Regions from separate parts of the Homo sapiens genome. Here all the other regions are linked to region 2. The links are contacts of gene promoters, found by promoter capture Hi-C in blood cells and fetal thymus (Javierre and others, 2016). All regions are on one chromosome and are shown on one strand. The core of a region is centred on a gene start or on the middle of the fragment in contact, and the rest is flanking DNA. Distances in the headings are between cores, read along the strand shown. Region 1 has its middle 290 kb from the start of MIR8082. Region 2 holds the start of UGT8 (UDP glycosyltransferase 8). Region 3 overlaps CAMK2D (calcium/calmodulin dependent protein kinase II delta). Region 4 overlaps ANK2 (ankyrin 2). Region 5 overlaps ANK2 (ankyrin 2). Region 6 overlaps LOC105377374 (a long non-coding RNA gene).

Region 1 (2,700 bases), core at 131-2,630, 1.2 Mb before region 2:
GATTACATGGGTAAGCCACCGTGCCTGGCCCACAGACATTCTTAAAGTGTGATTCAAGAACATCCCGGGGTCCCTGAGACATTTTCAAGGATTGCAAGAGGTTAAAACTATTTTCATTATAATACTAAAACCTTAACTTCCTGTTTCATTCTTATTCCTTCACGAGTGTACAGTGTTTTCCAGAGGCTCTATAATGTGTGGCAAGGCTGGACACGGTGGCTTACACCTGTAATCCCAGCACTTTGAGAGGTCAAGGTGGGTGGATCGCTTGAATCCAGGAGTTCAAGACCAGCCTGGGCAATATGGCAAAACCCCATCTCTACAAAAGATATAAAAATTAGCTGGGTGTGGTGGTGGTGCATGCCTGTAGTCCCAGCTACTTAGGAGGTTGAGGTGAGAGGATCAGTTGAGCTCAAGGAGGTCAAGGTTGCAGAAAGCCATGATTGAGCCACTGCATTCCAGCCTGGGCCACAGAGTGAGACCCTGTCTTAAAAAAAAAAAAAAGTGTTGTGACATCATTCCTCTGAGAGCTAATGGACAATGTGCTTGAATATTTTTGTGTTTGAAAATTTTTTAGTTTTCATTTTTTTAAATGGCAAATATCAATAAATATAACCTACACAGAGAGAAGCTTTATGAGGTTATGAATTACATTTAGGAGTGTAAAGTGGTCCTGGGACGAAATTGAGAAACACTGCTCTAGGTTTCATAAATTCATCCTGTTTCCATTCCAGTTTTTAAATGGACAATGGCTATTCCATTTCTTGGGATTTCTCACTTACAAAATTAGCTGTTAGACTGGATAGCATCTATAAGCTATCCATTTATCTGGGCTTCTGAAAATGAGGCATTTCCTTTTCTTTCTTTCTTTCTCTCTCTTTCTTTCTCTTCTTTCTTCCTTTCTCTTTCGCTTTCCTTCTTTCCTTTTTTCTTTCTCTTTCTTTTCTTTCTTTCTTTCTTTCTTTCTTTCTTCCTTCCTTCTTCCTTCCTTCTTTTCTTTCTCTCTCTCTCTCCTTCCTTTCTTTCTCTTTCTTTCTCTTTCTTTCTTTCTTTCTTTCTTTCTTTCTTTCTTTCTTTCTTTTCTTTCTTTCTTTCTTTCTTTCTTCTTTCTTTCTTTCTCTTTTTCTTCTGCTAGTACCCATATAACAAAAATAACAGCTAAGGTGGGGTTATAAAGAAAAATGGATCCTTTTGCATTCTTGTGTCATTCTCTCTGATCTATACAGTAGTTCTGAAACCGATAATTTAGGCTGAGTAGCTCTATCAGGACTTTCAAACCTAAAAGATACGTAAGAAATGAGTGTGTCGCTCTTAAAGGTCAAAATGAAGAAACAACAACAAAACTAAAACAACAGCCTCAATAGCAAGGCCCATGTATAGGAAGATCTGGGAAGAATGTAATCAGGTATAAAGAACAAGTTGAGGACAGCATCTCAGAACTAAAGCTATGAATAGCAATATTGTTCTGGAATCTCTCTCCTGTGTGGTGCCTTGCACTTGTTGCCAGAGCCAAGCATGCTGGCTTAAAAAAGCTGCAGATGACTGGACAGTACAAAGGACCCTGGACATGAAATGAAGAAACCTGGATTTGTGATAAAATTTCGCCACTAAGTTAGCTTAGGTATGTAATTTTATCTTTCTGGTAATTTCTGCACTATAAATCATAACTGTTTTTGTAAGTTAAAATGGAATGGATGACTCAGTATTTTTGCCTCTGGCAATTTCCCTAAGGAAATAAGTGTCTGTGCAAAAAATTGGCTACAAGAATTACTTAATTGGCTTATTGTTGGTAGCATAAAATAAGAAAATGTACATGTTCAACAATAGGTGATTAAATAAATTGTGTATCATTTAGATAAACAGATTCCAGTGAAGCCACTAGCCATAACAGAAGCATATTTTCTGAAATAAAATTTATTGTTTATTATATGTTGGTAAGTGAAAAAGCAAGTTACAAAAAGGAATGTATAGTATGATCTTGTATTTTTTGTGTTTATGTAATTGGGAGAACAGGATACCCCCTTTTCTGTATGCAGATGAAGAATGATATGAACAAAAGATACTCAGCATTTCAAAATCTCTCTTATAAAATCATCATTAAAAGTATATAGTGCTCCATAGTTTTTCTGGTAAGCTTGAAGGGAAAGTAGAAAAGAAACCAAATACACTAAAAATGAGAGAGGACATTCATGATCATGGGACAGCCAGCAAAGTTTTTTTGTGGATGAGAAACACAATGATGGGATTAACCCAAAAGAGAAATATACTTGAAGTTTCATGTTGCTGAGACCTGGAGCTTCGAAACTCTCACCCCCTTTTTCCCTCACTTCCTTTTCACACTTTCCTGCCAAGTGGCATTATAGCATCAGCGAACGGATCACATTGAGCGAGGCCCAAGATGCTTCTCCAGCCTCGATGTCTCAACCCTGAGAATGGCTCTTGGGGAATGAGTAATAAATCAGATGGTGAAATCTCCCATGGCTAAGTGTGACTTGTTCCAAAAGTAGAGCATGTTTACTTGGATAAGTTTCAAGAAGGAGTTTTGTTGGCTAAAAAGCATGAATCTCTCAGAAGGCAGTGGAGCCAAGTTAGAAACTAGATATGATCCCAAAGTGAAATCTTCCGGGAAAGGGGCTCTCTCCTTCTGGGAACATTGTCTTTATCACAGTGCCTGTAACATAGTGGCTCCTTAATCAATGT
Region 2 (2,700 bases), core at 51-2,550:
GATAACATATACAGTAAAATATAATTTCCGTTTTCTTATCTAAGGGCAGAAAATCCCAACCTATTTCTGAATCTCACTTTGGAACAAGGACAGAATGACCTGACATGGCATTTTTGATTTCCAACGTTTAAACGCATAACGTTTGTGTGCTATGGAAGCATCTTAGCTTCTGGAATTTATGCTCGACACGAAACATAAACAATAAACAATTCAGTCCACGTTATATAGACATATCTCATATATATATGAGATATATATATATAAAATATCTTACGCACATGCACACTTAGACTTTCTCGGTTTTCATGAAACTCACAATCTACCTCAGGCGCTCAAAGGCACTCGGCCTCTCAGGTCTGAGGCACCACAGAGAGGCTTCCTTGGGCACAGTTGCTTGCTGGTCAAGACGCCAACTTGGCAAGGTTATGCTGCTGGCAAAGGCAGATTCGTCAGAATAAAGTCGCCACAGGCTCAACCAGGCAAATCATGAATGGCCCTTTCAGCAGGAGCCTGAGAGGAGGGATGTTATTCAGCCCAGCAACCCTATTTACTTTTTTTCAGGATCCCCAAACTCGCGTTTTTTAAGGCTTTCCGCTACAAGAGAGCCAGAATTGAAGCCTGGGTTGGCGGCAGTGCAGGTACCTGCTCACCTAAGCATCCCTCTTTTAATTTTCCTAACTCCTCCACCCACTTGCCCAAGTATAACTTTTGAATGGATTCAGCAGAAGTGAGGCAGGAAAGGCAGGAAGATGAGAAAAGGCGCGACATCAACACGCAGAGCTCACTGAGCCGCCTTGATGATAAAAGGCGGGCACAGGGACTACGTGGGTGGTGGCAGAAAGGGCGCGGGACACGCCTCGCAAAGAGGGAAGAGTGGGCGGGGCCACGTGCCGTTGTCAGAGTTCGCAACTCGAGCGCCCAGAGGGCTCGCGAAAAGTCCCAGCCTGCAAGCCAACCTCGCTCAGCGGACGACTGGCCGGATCCCAACGCGCTGCCCCTTGCCCAGCCTGCGAGCGCGTGGTACGAAGGCGCGTCTGCATCCATGCCCCAGCCCGGGGAGCTGGAGGCGCTCGCAGTCAGAGGCGAGTGATGCTAGGCTGAGCGCGTGGCGGCCCGTGTCGTGCCCCGCTGAGCCAAGTGCGGAAGGGCAGCGGCGCGCTCCGACTCTGCTCGCCGCACGCAGGGCGGGGCGCGGCTGGGGGGCGGGGGGCCTGGCCGCCCGCTGGGAGCTGCGGACGAGCAGGCGCGCTGAGGACCCGAGGGAGGACACGGTTAAAGCATTGCTATCAACTGTGAACCCAGAGAGCCCTCCTTAGCCAACACGCTAACTCCGAAGCCTCCCTTACGCCCCCGAACCACCGAAGGCGGCGACACCTGATTCAGCGCACAAACACAGGTCCCTTCTGTCCCGGATACAATTACGCGGCAGACACACACTCAAACTCGCGCGGGGCAGCCAAGAGACGAGGTGAGCGGAGGGACCACGCCGTTCCAGAGGGCGGAAGGGGGGGCGGTCTGGGTGGAGGAGAGGGGCGTTGTTTGCTCCCTGAGGTGAGTGCCGGGCGAATGGCTGCTGTCCAGGGGCGGGGGGGTGGGAATTAGAAAGCACAGACAGGGTTGGGCTGAGGAAGTTAGAAGTGGTTAGTGGGGGTTGGCGGGGTAGGGAGAAAGGCTAGGGGTTGAGGGGGTGTGAAGGAGATCTTTTTAGGCTGGCCCCTCATAGCGCCCGCGATCCTGTTTCTGCCATATGGCATCCGTTCGAGGGTTCTCTCGCGTTTGTGCGCTCAAGGCAGAGGGAGGGTATAACGGGGAGGCGATTCGGCCGAGGACCTTGTACTTGACCCCTGAAGGGATGGGCACCGCGGAGCCCAGAGGCCAGAGCCAGCTGCCAGGGCAGGGATGGAGGTGGGGGACCAGGAGGAGCTTCGGGACCTCTTCAACTCCCCTTTACTCCGTCTTCCCCCTAAGGAGGAACAAGAGCGGGATGTGTTGGGGGTGGGGAATGTCTTGGGGCTGTACAAGCTCGCTGAGACTTTTCGGGGCCCGCCGTTTCCGCGTGCCCGCGCGACTCTCGACAATGGACAGTGTACAGTGGTGGCAGGGTTTCACGGGTCCCCGCGCCGATTTGGGAATGGTACGGGGTGCCCTTGCATTAGAGAAGCCTGTGCGGGCCCCCGGGATTAGAGAAGAGGTGAGCGCCTGCGGGCGGGGAGAGAAGGACGCGCTGCTGGCAAAAAGAAGGGCGCCTTCCATGGACTGGAGGAGCGGCGAGGGAGCCTGGTATGTGTGTTTTGGATTTGAAGGAGGCAAACCGCATCGGAGAGTGCAAGTAGATGCAGTGCGTCGGGGCAAAAGGACAATCTGAGGAGGTGGGCGGGGTACCCAATCTCTATATACAAGCTTTCTGGTTTAATTGAGGGTTTATAAAATTGAGTACGGTAAACCTGCCATTGTGCAGCACTTCCTTAGGAAAGGAATAGCCTCTGTACCTGTACCGCGAGTTCCCATCACCTTTCAGCATCTAGGCGGGGAGAGGAGAGAAGGTAGAGAACTTCTGAGAGAGTTCTGAGAACTAACGCGAATGGCTGGATTGCGCTAACTAGGCGTTCTTAGCAGGAAAATGTCGCCAAGGGAAGGAGTGGGTGGCGGTATCAAACCAGGCGTGCTCTGGAGAATCACCTTTATTATGAGCCAGTGTTA
Region 3 (2,700 bases), core at 139-2,638, 1.0 Mb before region 2:
GAATTCCCATAATGTTCTGGGAAAATTCTTCAGAGATATAAAATTTCCAGGTATTTCTTATACACATCTAAACTGTTTAAAATCTGAGGTCACAATTAAACAGGTGTTGAAACAAGAGGGTAAACACAGATGAAGTGGCAGGTGAAACAAGGGTCAAAAAAAATGGAGGGACACATTTACCATTTCGCCTTAGAAGCGTTGCTTTTTGTAAAGTATATAACAGGAAAACAAATGCAAGTCTCCAACAATAAAGGGAGAATTTAAAGTAAACTCATGAATAAAATAAACCCCTCTTTAGTGTAAGAATACTTTGGGGAAGAGCTAGGGAGCTTTCAAAGAATAAATAAATACAAATTTACAATCCCCTGGAGCATTGGTAATTATTAAACCCACTTCCATACACTTCAGTGAAGAAAAACTTTTGCTTCATACTATATCAAAATGCACATTTTATGCTATTCTTATTAAGGGTTCACTGATATCAAATGGGACTGCTAATTAGAGAGGAGAAATCCTTGTTTGGCACCTATAAGGTCCTGTGAACTGTCATCTGACATATAATAATGCAGAACACATCACACTGATGAATTTTGTATAAGTTCACTGTGCAATTCAAATGCAAGTACATCCTGAACTACATTTATTCATTGAAAGATGAAGCAAACATTTTAATAAGGACATTTTCAACCACTTAATGTATAAAATAATATTATTCTAAAGAAAAATCTTGAATTTAAAAAAGTAATCACCATCTGATTTATTACAATGTAAATATTTTAAAAATTGATCATGACTATGATTTTCTAGCTCTTTTATTAACAATACCACTAAAAGCGTCTCACATTCATTGCTGTTGACTACATTGTTTATTTGAGTATTGGTCATTATTTTTAAACCATAGGAATCTTTTTTCTTTTACAATAATGTTCACTTTGCACTACTCTTTAAGAATATTTCTCTTCCTGTTCTCAAACAACAAGCATAAATTATTGAATCTTGGGAATAACAGAAGATAAAGAAGTAAACAATAACACATACTAAATGGACTTCACCATTTTTTTTACTAGTGAGAATGGATTCAATTCTTAAATTTTTGAGAACTAGTAAAAAATTTTTACAATTTTTTGACAATCAAATAGCCTCTTTTGAGACAGGGTCTCACTCTGTCGCCCAGGCTGGAGTGCAGTGGCATGATCTCTGCAGCCTCCACCTCCCAGGTTCAAGTGATTCTCCTGCCTCAGCCTCCTGATTATCTGGGACTACAGGTGCATGCTGCCACACCTGGCTAAGTTTTGTATTTTCAGCAGAGACAGGGTTTCACCATGTTGCCCAGGCTGGTCTCGAACTCCTGGGCTCAAGCAATCCTCCCACCTTGGCCTCCCAAAGTTCTGGGATTATAGGAGTGGGCCACCACATCTGACTGAGAAATAGCCTCTTTATGTATTTAGAAGGGAATGTTCCTTCTCTTTGATTTTATCGGAGAGCTTTCATAAAAAATATCTTAGAGCTCTTTAGCAGTAAAAATAGTCTCTATTTTAATTTCAACCAGTATTTTTCAAACCAAGTAACAGCCTGCTTAACATAACTTTGAAGGGTAACATTAATGAAATTCCCTAGTTTAGTACCTTGATTAAAAGTATTACTGTTTCTTGGCAAGTGGCCAAATAGCTACTTCCAGAGGTTCCCCATGGCCCCTTTCAGGACCCTAATGTGGGGATTTGGGGTAAACTGAGCAAGTGATGATTCACTCATCATAGTATAAATTACACAGAATTTTCTATTTGACTTTGGCCATAAAAATTCCATTAAAAAATTAGAGCGTAGTCATGTACAGATAGATTCACAAAGTGCCATAAACAGTGCATTAAACCAAGAAGAAAAATTAGAAACTTAGAAGTGTGCCTCTGAGGGCAAGGAGGGGCTGGGAACCTTAATATCAGCTGGACATCTGTTGAGGGTCAGGCTACAATGGGATTAGCAAGCCTTGGGAAGCTCTGATGGCATTGGAGAATGGGAGCAGAGTCAATCTCTGCTCCCAAACATCTCATTTACATTGCTAATAATGAGCCAATCACTCTTGATCAGATTTTTAAAAATAAATGACAGCTACAGAATATATAAAAGTACACAGGAAAATTTACACCATGCAATCCAGTAACATCTAAGCAAGTGGTTAATGTTACTCCACTCCAAAAGTGTTGCCTTGGATAGCCTAGGAAGTTGCAAATTAGACAAAAAACTTAGCCTTTTTTAAACTTTTGTAAAGATTTTGCCAATTAACAAGATTGAAAAATTACTCTTGAACTCTCTTAAATGCCTGAATAAATATATTTCAACTCAGGGGTTCAAGGGTTTTAATGAAATTTCCAAAGAGTTAATTAGCTAATAATAGTTCCTTAAAGAGACCACTGAGACTTTTTTCAGGCTGTTTCTGTTTTCTGATTAGATATTCATTGTTCAGTAGAACTTTCTGTGATGATGAAAATGTTCTATATCTGGTCTGGCCAATTGGTAGCTACTAGACACTTGTGGCTACTAGGCAGTTGGCTAGACCAACTACATGGTTAGACCAACTGAGAAATAAATTTTTAATTTAATTTAATTTTAATTAATTGAAATTGCAATAGCCACATGTGACTACTGGCTACCACTGGGCAACCTAGAATCTATCTAGGGATTAGAGGATTTCAATCTTTGATC
Region 4 (2,700 bases), core at 201-2,700, 1.2 Mb before region 2:
GTTGCCCATCAGAGTCAAAGGCAAGGAGGACGTGCCAAAAAAGACCACCCACAGGCCACATCCAGCTGCGTCACCCTCTCTGAAGTCAGAGAGACATGCGCCAGGGTCTCCCTCCCCTAAAACAGAAAGACACTCTACTCTTTCCTCTTCCGCAAAAACTGAAAGGCACCCTCCAGTATCACCATCAAGTAAAACTGAGAAACACTCACCTGTGTCACCCTCTGCAAAAACGGAAAGACATTCACCTGCGTCATCATCGAGTAAAACTGAGAAACACTCACCTGTATCACCCTCGACAAAAACTGAAAGGCACTCTCCTGTGTCATCTACAAAAACAGAAAGACACCCACCTGTTTCGCCTTCAGGCAAAACAGACAAACGTCCACCTGTATCGCCCTCCGGGAGGACAGAAAAACACCCGCCAGTATCGCCTGGGAGAACAGAAAAACGCTTGCCTGTTTCACCCTCCGGAAGAACGGACAAGCACCAACCTGTATCAACAGCTGGGAAAACTGAGAAGCACCTGCCTGTGTCACCTTCTGGCAAAACAGAAAAGCAACCACCTGTATCCCCCACTTCAAAAACAGAGAGGATTGAGGAAACCATGTCTGTTCGGGAGCTGATGAAGGCTTTCCAGTCAGGTCAGGACCCTTCTAAACATAAAACTGGACTCTTTGAGCACAAATCAGCAAAACAAAAGCAGCCACAAGAGAAAGGTAAAGTTCGGGTAGAAAAAGAAAAGGGGCCGATACTAACCCAGAGAGAAGCTCAGAAAACAGAGAATCAGACAATCAAACGAGGCCAGAGACTCCCGGTAACGGGCACAGCAGAATCCAAAAGAGGAGTTCGTGTTTCCTCCATAGGAGTTAAGAAAGAAGATGCAGCTGGAGGAAAGGAGAAAGTTCTCAGCCACAAAATACCTGAACCTGTTCAGTCAGTGCCTGAAGAAGAAAGCCACAGAGAGAGCGAAGTGCCCAAAGAAAAGATGGCTGATGAGCAGGGAGACATGGATCTACAGATCAGCCCAGATAGGAAAACCTCCACTGACTTCTCTGAGGTCATTAAGCAAGAGTTGGAAGACAATGACAAATACCAACAATTCCGCCTGAGTGAGGAGACAGAAAAGGCACAGCTTCACTTAGACCAAGTACTCACTAGTCCTTTCAACACAACATTTCCACTCGACTACATGAAAGATGAGTTCCTTCCAGCTCTGTCTTTACAAAGCGGTGCTTTAGATGGCAGTTCTGAAAGCCTAAAGAATGAGGGGGTAGCCGGCTCTCCGTGTGGCAGCCTGATGGAGGGGACCCCTCAGATTAGTTCAGAAGAAAGCTATAAGCATGAAGGCCTAGCAGAGACCCCTGAGACGAGCCCAGAAAGCCTTTCTTTCTCACCAAAGAAAAGTGAGGAGCAAACTGGGGAAACAAAGGAAAGCACCAAGACAGAAACCACCACAGAAATTCGTTCAGAAAAAGAGCATCCCACGACCAAAGACATTACTGGTGGCTCTGAAGAGCGAGGTGCCACAGTCACTGAGGACTCAGAGACCTCTACTGAGAGTTTTCAGAAAGAGGCCACTCTAGGCTCTCCCAAAGACACAAGCCCTAAAAGACAAGATGATTGCACAGGCAGCTGTAGTGTAGCATTAGCTAAAGAGACACCTACAGGACTGACTGAGGAGGCAGCCTGTGATGAAGGTCAACGTACCTTTGGTAGTTCAGCCCACAAGACACAAACTGATAGTGAGGTTCAAGAATCCACAGCCACCTCAGACGAGACAAAGGCCTTGCCGCTGCCTGAGGCTTCTGTAAAGACAGATACAGGAACTGAATCAAAACCTCAGGGAGTCATTAGAAGTCCCCAAGGGTTAGAACTTGCACTCCCTAGCCGAGATAGCGAAGTCCTCAGCGCTGTGGCTGATGACTCATTAGCAGTGAGCCACAAAGACTCTCTGGAAGCCAGCCCTGTGCTAGAAGATAACTCTTCACACAAAACCCCTGATTCTCTGGAGCCAAGTCCTCTGAAAGAATCCCCTTGCCGTGACTCTCTGGAAAGCAGCCCTGTTGAACCAAAGATGAAGGCTGGAATTTTTCCAAGTCACTTTCCTCTTCCTGCAGCTGTTGCCAAAACAGAACTCTTGACGGAAGTGGCCTCTGTGCGGTCCCGGCTACTCCGAGACCCTGATGGCAGTGCTGAGGATGACAGTCTTGAGCAGACATCGCTCATGGAGAGCTCAGGGAAGAGCCCCCTTTCTCCTGACACCCCCAGCTCTGAAGAAGTCAGCTATGAGGTTACACCCAAAACCACAGATGTAAGTACACCAAAACCAGCTGTGATTCATGAATGTGCAGAGGAGGATGATTCAGAAAACGGGGAGAAAAAGAGGTTCACACCTGAAGAGGAGATGTTTAAAATGGTAACCAAAATCAAAATGTTTGATGAACTTGAACAAGAAGCAAAGCAGAAAAGGGACTACAAAAAAGAACCCAAACAAGAAGAATCTTCTTCATCTTCTGACCCAGATGCTGACTGTTCAGTAGATGTGGATGAACCAAAACATACAGGCAGTGGGGAGGATGAAAGTGGTGTCCCTGTGTTAGTAACTTCGGAGAGCAGGAAGGTGTCTTCCTCCTCAGAAAGTGAACCTGAGTTGGCACAGCTTAAAAAAGGTGCTGACTCAGGCCTTTTACCAGAACCAGT
Region 5 (2,700 bases), core at 37-2,536, 1.4 Mb before region 2:
CTCCTGCCTCAGCCTCCCAAAGTGCTGGGATTATAGGCGTGAACCACCACACCTCACCCACTTAAAGCTTCTTTTCCCTCTCGTACATTTCAGAGGTTGGCTAGAACACCAAGATTCTTAACCTGCAGAATTAAAATTAAAACCCCCTCCATTAAACTCTGCAGAGTGAATTGTTTCATTTAAGGACTTATGGGACATCAGTCTGAAAAATCTGTAAACCTAGTTTATAAAATTTTATCTTTCCCCCTTCGATTCACAGAGGATGAGATTAACATAATCCTTTGTAGACAATAGCACCTGTTTTCCTACGGTTAACTCATTGTTTAAAAATAAACCCATGTGGGAAACTTCTCTATGGAAAAGAACAAGTAATTTTAAATGTATACATTCAGTTTGGTATGAGACTATGCAGAATCGTTTATACTCTAATAAGAAAAGAGATTTTGGGTCATGGATTGAATTGTTAGGGCAATATTAGATTTTATCATCATAATGTGTTTGGTAAGGAAATTGGACTCATTTTAAAAGAAATGCACGGGACGCTTGGCAAACCAGAAACTGTTCCTTGATGCTGCTTTTGCTAAAACATATTTGAACTTGTCGAGGATTCATTTCATAAACAACAGACATTTAAAAAACTATTATGAATGGCAACAATCTTTGCCTTTGGAAGGTAAAATTTTATTTGGAAAAATACAGTGCTAATCAGAGCCAAGTCTGCTGACCAAGCCTTGAATGTGATAATATGGCTGTGGAAGATGTAGAGAGAGAAGTCAGGCACTCTGGTCTCTAGATGGGACACTAGTCTAATCTGGAGTAAACAAACAAACAAAAAAGTACAAGAATAAATTAAAAACATGGCCAGTTAACGTGGATTTCCAATGCCTCATGCATAATTGACAAAATGTGCATTGGTTCTGCTTGTAGTATAGTAAACAGCAATTCTAGCAGAAATTAAAAAACAAAACAAACTAACAACTGGCAATTCCACAGAAGTAAACATGTGAATTCACTATATGCAATAAATTTCTTACTTCGAACATAAAGAGGGAGTAAACATTTTTATAAGCATTTCTCTCTGGCACATCAAATACATTTTAAACAAATATTTAAAGAATATCTATTTGAAGCCCAGTGTGCTGGCTCACATCTGTAATCCCAGCTACTTTGGAGGCTGTAGCAAGAGGAGCACTCACAGGAGCCTAGGAGTTTGAGGCTGCCACTGTACAACCCCACCATCTATTATTTTTTGTCTTTTTAGTAATAGCCATTCTGACTGGTATGAGATGGTGTATAGTTGCCCATGTTAATATAGTGTATTCATTAAGCCAATTATTTTTGCCTGCTTAAGTGTTTATTACTATTTTTGTTTTTCTTTTCTTCTAAACTCTGTTGATATTTTAAAAATTAGGCTTACTTTTAATCATAGAATTGTAGAATTTCCTGGAAAAGAATCTCACTTAAACAGAAAAAAACTGAAGCCCCCAAATATTAAGTGAGTGGCTAATGCTCCCACAGTGAGCTGGAGACAGAAAGAGAACTAGAGTCCAAACTTTATGGCTTGGAATCTACTGGTTTCTGGTTTTTTTTTCTTTTTGTTATTTATTTTAATCACATCATAGGTATTTTTAATCTCTTGGCCTTTATTTTCACAAAAGGTTTAAATTATTTTTCATTGGTGTTAGTGTTGTGGCTGGTAAATTTTGATGTAGCAAATGGTAGAAAATCATTGGTACTGTTATGATTTATGTAAAATTTATTTTTCTTATTCCCAACATATTCTCAAGTGCCCCAGTAGCTGCAAACATAACTATAAGCAGCTCGTTTCTCTACCACTAAAAATTCCTAGGTTTCTTTGCAAGGTGAAAGAAACTCAATGTTTCAGTAAACCTTTTTTTAGTTAATATTTCTTTGCAATAGGATTCTTTAGTTGTTAATTAAATTGCATGAATCTCATGAGATATTGACACATACACACACCCCCCACAAATTTTTGATTCATTGAAAATACAGTCATTCCGTGTTAACACTAAACCAATATTGTGAAAATAGAAAAGGAAGACACTATATGAGGTGGCCAATTTTTTTTTTTGATGGTAAAAAATAATCTCTTCGTAAGTGGGCTACTATCTTGATAAATAACAAATTTTAATCGGTTAAAGTGATTAGTGAAGTTGAAAAATGCCTGCACATTTTGATTTCTGCAAAATTCAGAAACCTTGAACATTTTCTATTTTGTTTCTCCAAAACAGAAGGGAAATACCGCTCTTCACATTGCATCTTTGGCTGGACAAGCAGAAGTTGTCAAAGTTCTTGTTAAGGAAGGAGCCAATATTAATGCACAGTCTCAGGTATTCCATTCAGATTTTCCCTGATGTACATACATTTAAATTAGAACAGTTTTGTGAAATTGATTTAATGTGTTTAGCTAGCTGTTCTACTGATAAATTTATTATAAGTGCTTTGTTATTTATTTTAGCCAAATAATTTTATTAACCTTTATGATGAAGCTTATTTTTTCAACATATAATCTCCCTTTTAATGTAACTTAACACTGGAAAAATGTAAGTCTATCATTGTCTCTAAGTATTTTTCAAAAGAATATAAAGTGATTTTTTTCAGAATGACAGTGACATCTGTGAAATATGAATTATTCATGCAAGTTTCGTGTTACTCTATAAAAGTATTCTCTTTCCGTAA
Region 6 (2,874 bases), core at 205-2,704, 1.2 Mb before region 2:
TGAATTGTCTGAACATAGAAAATCAGGAGAGGGGCTGGCCTATGGCAAACTTAAGAGAACATGCCACATATTATATATATTGAGATAAATAGAAACCTTCAATTTATGAAGGTTTTAATGTAGGAAATAAAAATGTGAAAATGCAAAATATATCTAAGAGTTACCTTTTGAAATAATAATATTGATAATGGCTAGTAACATCATCAAGAGGTAAAAGAGAAAGTAGAAATATGCAATGATAAAAAAGAGAATGGAGGCTGAGTGCTGTGGCTCATGCCTGTAATCCCAGCACTCTGGGAGGCCAAAGTGGGAGGACTGCTTGAGCCCAGAAGTTCTAGACCAGCCTGGGCAATGTGGTGAAATTCCGTCTCTACAAAAAAATTTAAAAATTAATGAAATATGGGGATGCGTACCTGTGTTCCCAGCTACCTGGAAGGCTGGGGCAGGAGGATTGCTTGAGCCCAGGAAATTGAGGCTGCAGTTAGCTATGATCATACCACTGCACTCCATCCAGCCTGGGTGACAGAGCAAGACTGTCTCAGAACAAACAAACAAACAAAAACAAAAAAAGGGGGGGGAGATAATTAGAGAGGAAATAATAGATAATAGTAAGAAAATGTTACCTTATTTTTTGTAAGTAAATATAAAAACTCCAATAAGAGAGATGATTTTTAAAAGATAATTAATAAAATCTACCACAGAAGAGATAATAAAGGTAAACCCCAATAACCATAAAATAATTTGAGTCAGCAAATATTTAACCCCACAAGAAAGAATGAGATCTAGGTGCTGTCACAGATGGATTCTCTTAAACTCTCAATACACAGATAATTTTAATACTGAAACCACCAGAGACTCCCAGGAGAAAAATTCCTAGTTTATCTTGTTTTAAGACAGCAAGTATATCATTGGTACCCAAACTGGGCAAATTACATCAAAAGAACCTCAAAATAACACAACAAAAATTCTTAGACCAATTTCACTAAGGAATCTCTTTACAAAAATTACAAATAAAATATAATATAATTGACAATGCATTTTAAAAACAAACTATAAACAAATGGTTTCGTTCCAAGCAAAAATAGTTCATTAGTAATAGCTGTTAATGAAATTCCTCATATTGGAAGATTAAAGGAGAAACAACCACATACCAATGTTTCCATAGTTGGCCAAGAGGCATTTGGTGAAATTTAGCATCCATTTCATGTCCTTTTAAGAAAGTAGGAAGGGATGTATTCTTCCTGAAGGCAATCAAATTATGTATGTGTATGTGTATGTATGAATTGCATTTCCTTTACAAATGATCAAATAATCCTTTGTTAAGAGCACTTAAGTTACAATCATTTTAGCGTAGCTTTTGCAATAATTTGCAACAACAGAAAAAACCTTATCTCTGATTTCTCACCCAACACAACCACATCTCTCCTCTTGCCTGCCTTGTGCTGGCCCTCAGCATCACCAATTAAACCATTCATTTTTATTGTGGTTTTTTTTTTAATAAAGATGGGGTTTTACCGTGTCACCCAGGCTGGTCTCAAACTCCTGGACTCAAGTGATCCACCTGCCTCAGCCTCCCAAAGTGCTGAGATTACAGGTGTTAGACACACACCTGGCCTATCATTCCTTTTAAAATTGGTATCTAAATTGTTAGCTCATCTGCTTACAAGGTGATATCAGTTAGGGAGTATTTATGAATTCTTTCTTGTAAAAAGGTCAAAATCCTCATACATTTATTAAGAAACACAAAGAGAAAGCAAATTGAAGATTCTATTGTCACATAATACAGTTAGAAAGAATTTACTTTTAAGATGTAGTTCACAATTGATTTTGATTTTAACTAGAATTTGTGCTTCATCAGGAATACCTTTTACTTCATGCCTTTTTATCTTGTAACTTTTTTTTTAATTTAATTACGGGAACTAAGAAGGGGACACATGCTCCTCACACCAAAATTCATCTTGTTTGAAGATGAACACTGGGAGCATTTCTGCTTTAAAACTGAGAATAAGACAATAAAGTCCCCTATGTCCTTAGTGGCATAACATTAAAGGCAAAGTATTAAAGGCATAATATTAAAAAGGAAGTATTACTCAATTCAATACAATGGACAAAAAACAAGAAATACAGTATAAAAATAAAAAAAAGAATAGGTAAACATTGTCAATATGCAAACGATGTTTGTGAATCAGGAAAGCCAAAAGGAACCAACTGAAAGAAAAATTACTGTCAACCATTTGGTCACTCTTTTCAACTCATCATAGAATATGTCTAACTTTCCTTAACACACACACACACACACACACACACACGCACACACACACACACACACAGACCCCTCCAAATTAAAAATAAAAATGAAGGGAATTTTATATATCATTTACAATAGAGAATAAATGCCTAGTTATACATTTAGAAAGAGCCTATTTTAAAATGTTTCAAGTTTTTACTTCCATAAATGGAGGGACTTGCACTAACTTATATATATATAGGCATATAACAATTTAAATACATCAATTCCTTCTTAATTTATTTCTTAATTTAATAAGATCACCATAAAATTGCTTATAGGATTTTAATTTGAGTTGATAGGAAGAAAAAACAAGAATGTGAATTAATCAAGAAGATTCTATGGGTAAGAAAAAAAGGAATGTTGTCACCTGACTCAGTAGACCTACCGGATATTAAAATATATTTTAAGCCACTGTTTGTAAAACAGTTTAGTACTAGAGTAGCAAGAGACAGCGAGAGCAATGAAATAGGATGGGGAATCAATGGAAATTTGGCACATAATAAATACAGCATTTCAAATGAAGCCTAGACACTATAGTGTTAGGTCAAATGGCTGCTAATTCGGGGCAGGAAACAAAGCTGAAT

Evidence for each region. Contacts are between HindIII fragments. The CHiCAGO score rates a contact against its expected background, and 5 or more counts as called.
Region 1: a contact is called between a fragment that was not itself captured here and the fragment with the promoter of UGT8 in region 2, in 1 of 17 cell types (total B cells). The highest score is 6.0, in total B cells.
Region 3: a contact is called between a fragment that was not itself captured here and the fragment with the promoter of UGT8 in region 2, in 1 of 17 cell types (total B cells). The highest score is 5.5, in total B cells.
Region 4: a fragment that was not itself captured here is called in contact with the fragment with the promoter of UGT8 in region 2 in 1 of 17 cell types (activated CD4 T cells); the score reaches 5.7 in activated CD4 T cells.
Region 5: a contact is called between a fragment that was not itself captured here and the fragment with the promoter of UGT8 in region 2, in 1 of 17 cell types (M1 macrophages). The highest score is 7.1, in M1 macrophages.
Region 6: a fragment that was not itself captured here is called in contact with the fragment with the promoter of UGT8 in region 2 in 1 of 17 cell types (naive B cells); the score reaches 5.3 in naive B cells.

The regions. Positions count from the first base shown.
Region 1 is chr4:113,442,979-113,445,678 of GRCh38, forward strand. No RefSeq gene overlaps it. Among named protein-coding and RNA genes, the nearest start is that of MIR8082, 290 kb to the left of the region's middle. The HindIII fragment of the contact is 1,503 bases long and covers 630-2,132 here.
Region 2 is chr4:114,597,507-114,600,206 of GRCh38, forward strand. It overlaps UGT8 (UDP glycosyltransferase 8), which reads left to right and starts at 1,301. Exons shown (of 6, transcript NM_001128174.3): 1 at 1,301-1,468. The HindIII fragment of the contact is 2,701 bases long and covers 1-2,398 here.
Region 3 is chr4:113,549,051-113,551,750 of GRCh38, forward strand. All of the region lies in intron 5 of CAMK2D (calcium/calmodulin dependent protein kinase II delta), which reads right to left. Among named protein-coding and RNA genes, the nearest start is that of CAMK2D, 210 kb to the right of the region's middle. The HindIII fragment of the contact is 5,372 bases long and covers 1-2,700 here.
Region 4 is chr4:113,353,976-113,356,675 of GRCh38, forward strand. It overlaps ANK2 (ankyrin 2), which reads left to right. Exons shown (of 46, transcript NM_001148.6): 38 at 1-2,700. Among named protein-coding and RNA genes, the nearest start is that of MIR8082, 200 kb to the left of the region's middle. RefSeq lists enhancers at 1-999, 1,429-2,628, 1,976-2,195. The HindIII fragment of the contact is 3,438 bases long and covers 1-2,700 here.
Region 5 is chr4:113,196,759-113,199,458 of GRCh38, forward strand. It overlaps ANK2 (ankyrin 2), which reads left to right. Exons shown (of 46, transcript NM_001148.6): 4 at 2,253-2,351. Among named protein-coding and RNA genes, the nearest start is that of MIR8082, 46 kb to the left of the region's middle. The HindIII fragment of the contact is 2,443 bases long and covers 66-2,508 here.
Region 6 is chr4:113,390,289-113,393,162 of GRCh38, forward strand. It overlaps LOC105377374 (a long non-coding RNA gene), which reads right to left. Exons shown (of 5, transcript NR_199847.1): 4 at 414-533. Among named protein-coding and RNA genes, the nearest start is that of MIR8082, 240 kb to the left of the region's middle. The HindIII fragment of the contact is 3,026 bases long and covers 1-2,874 here.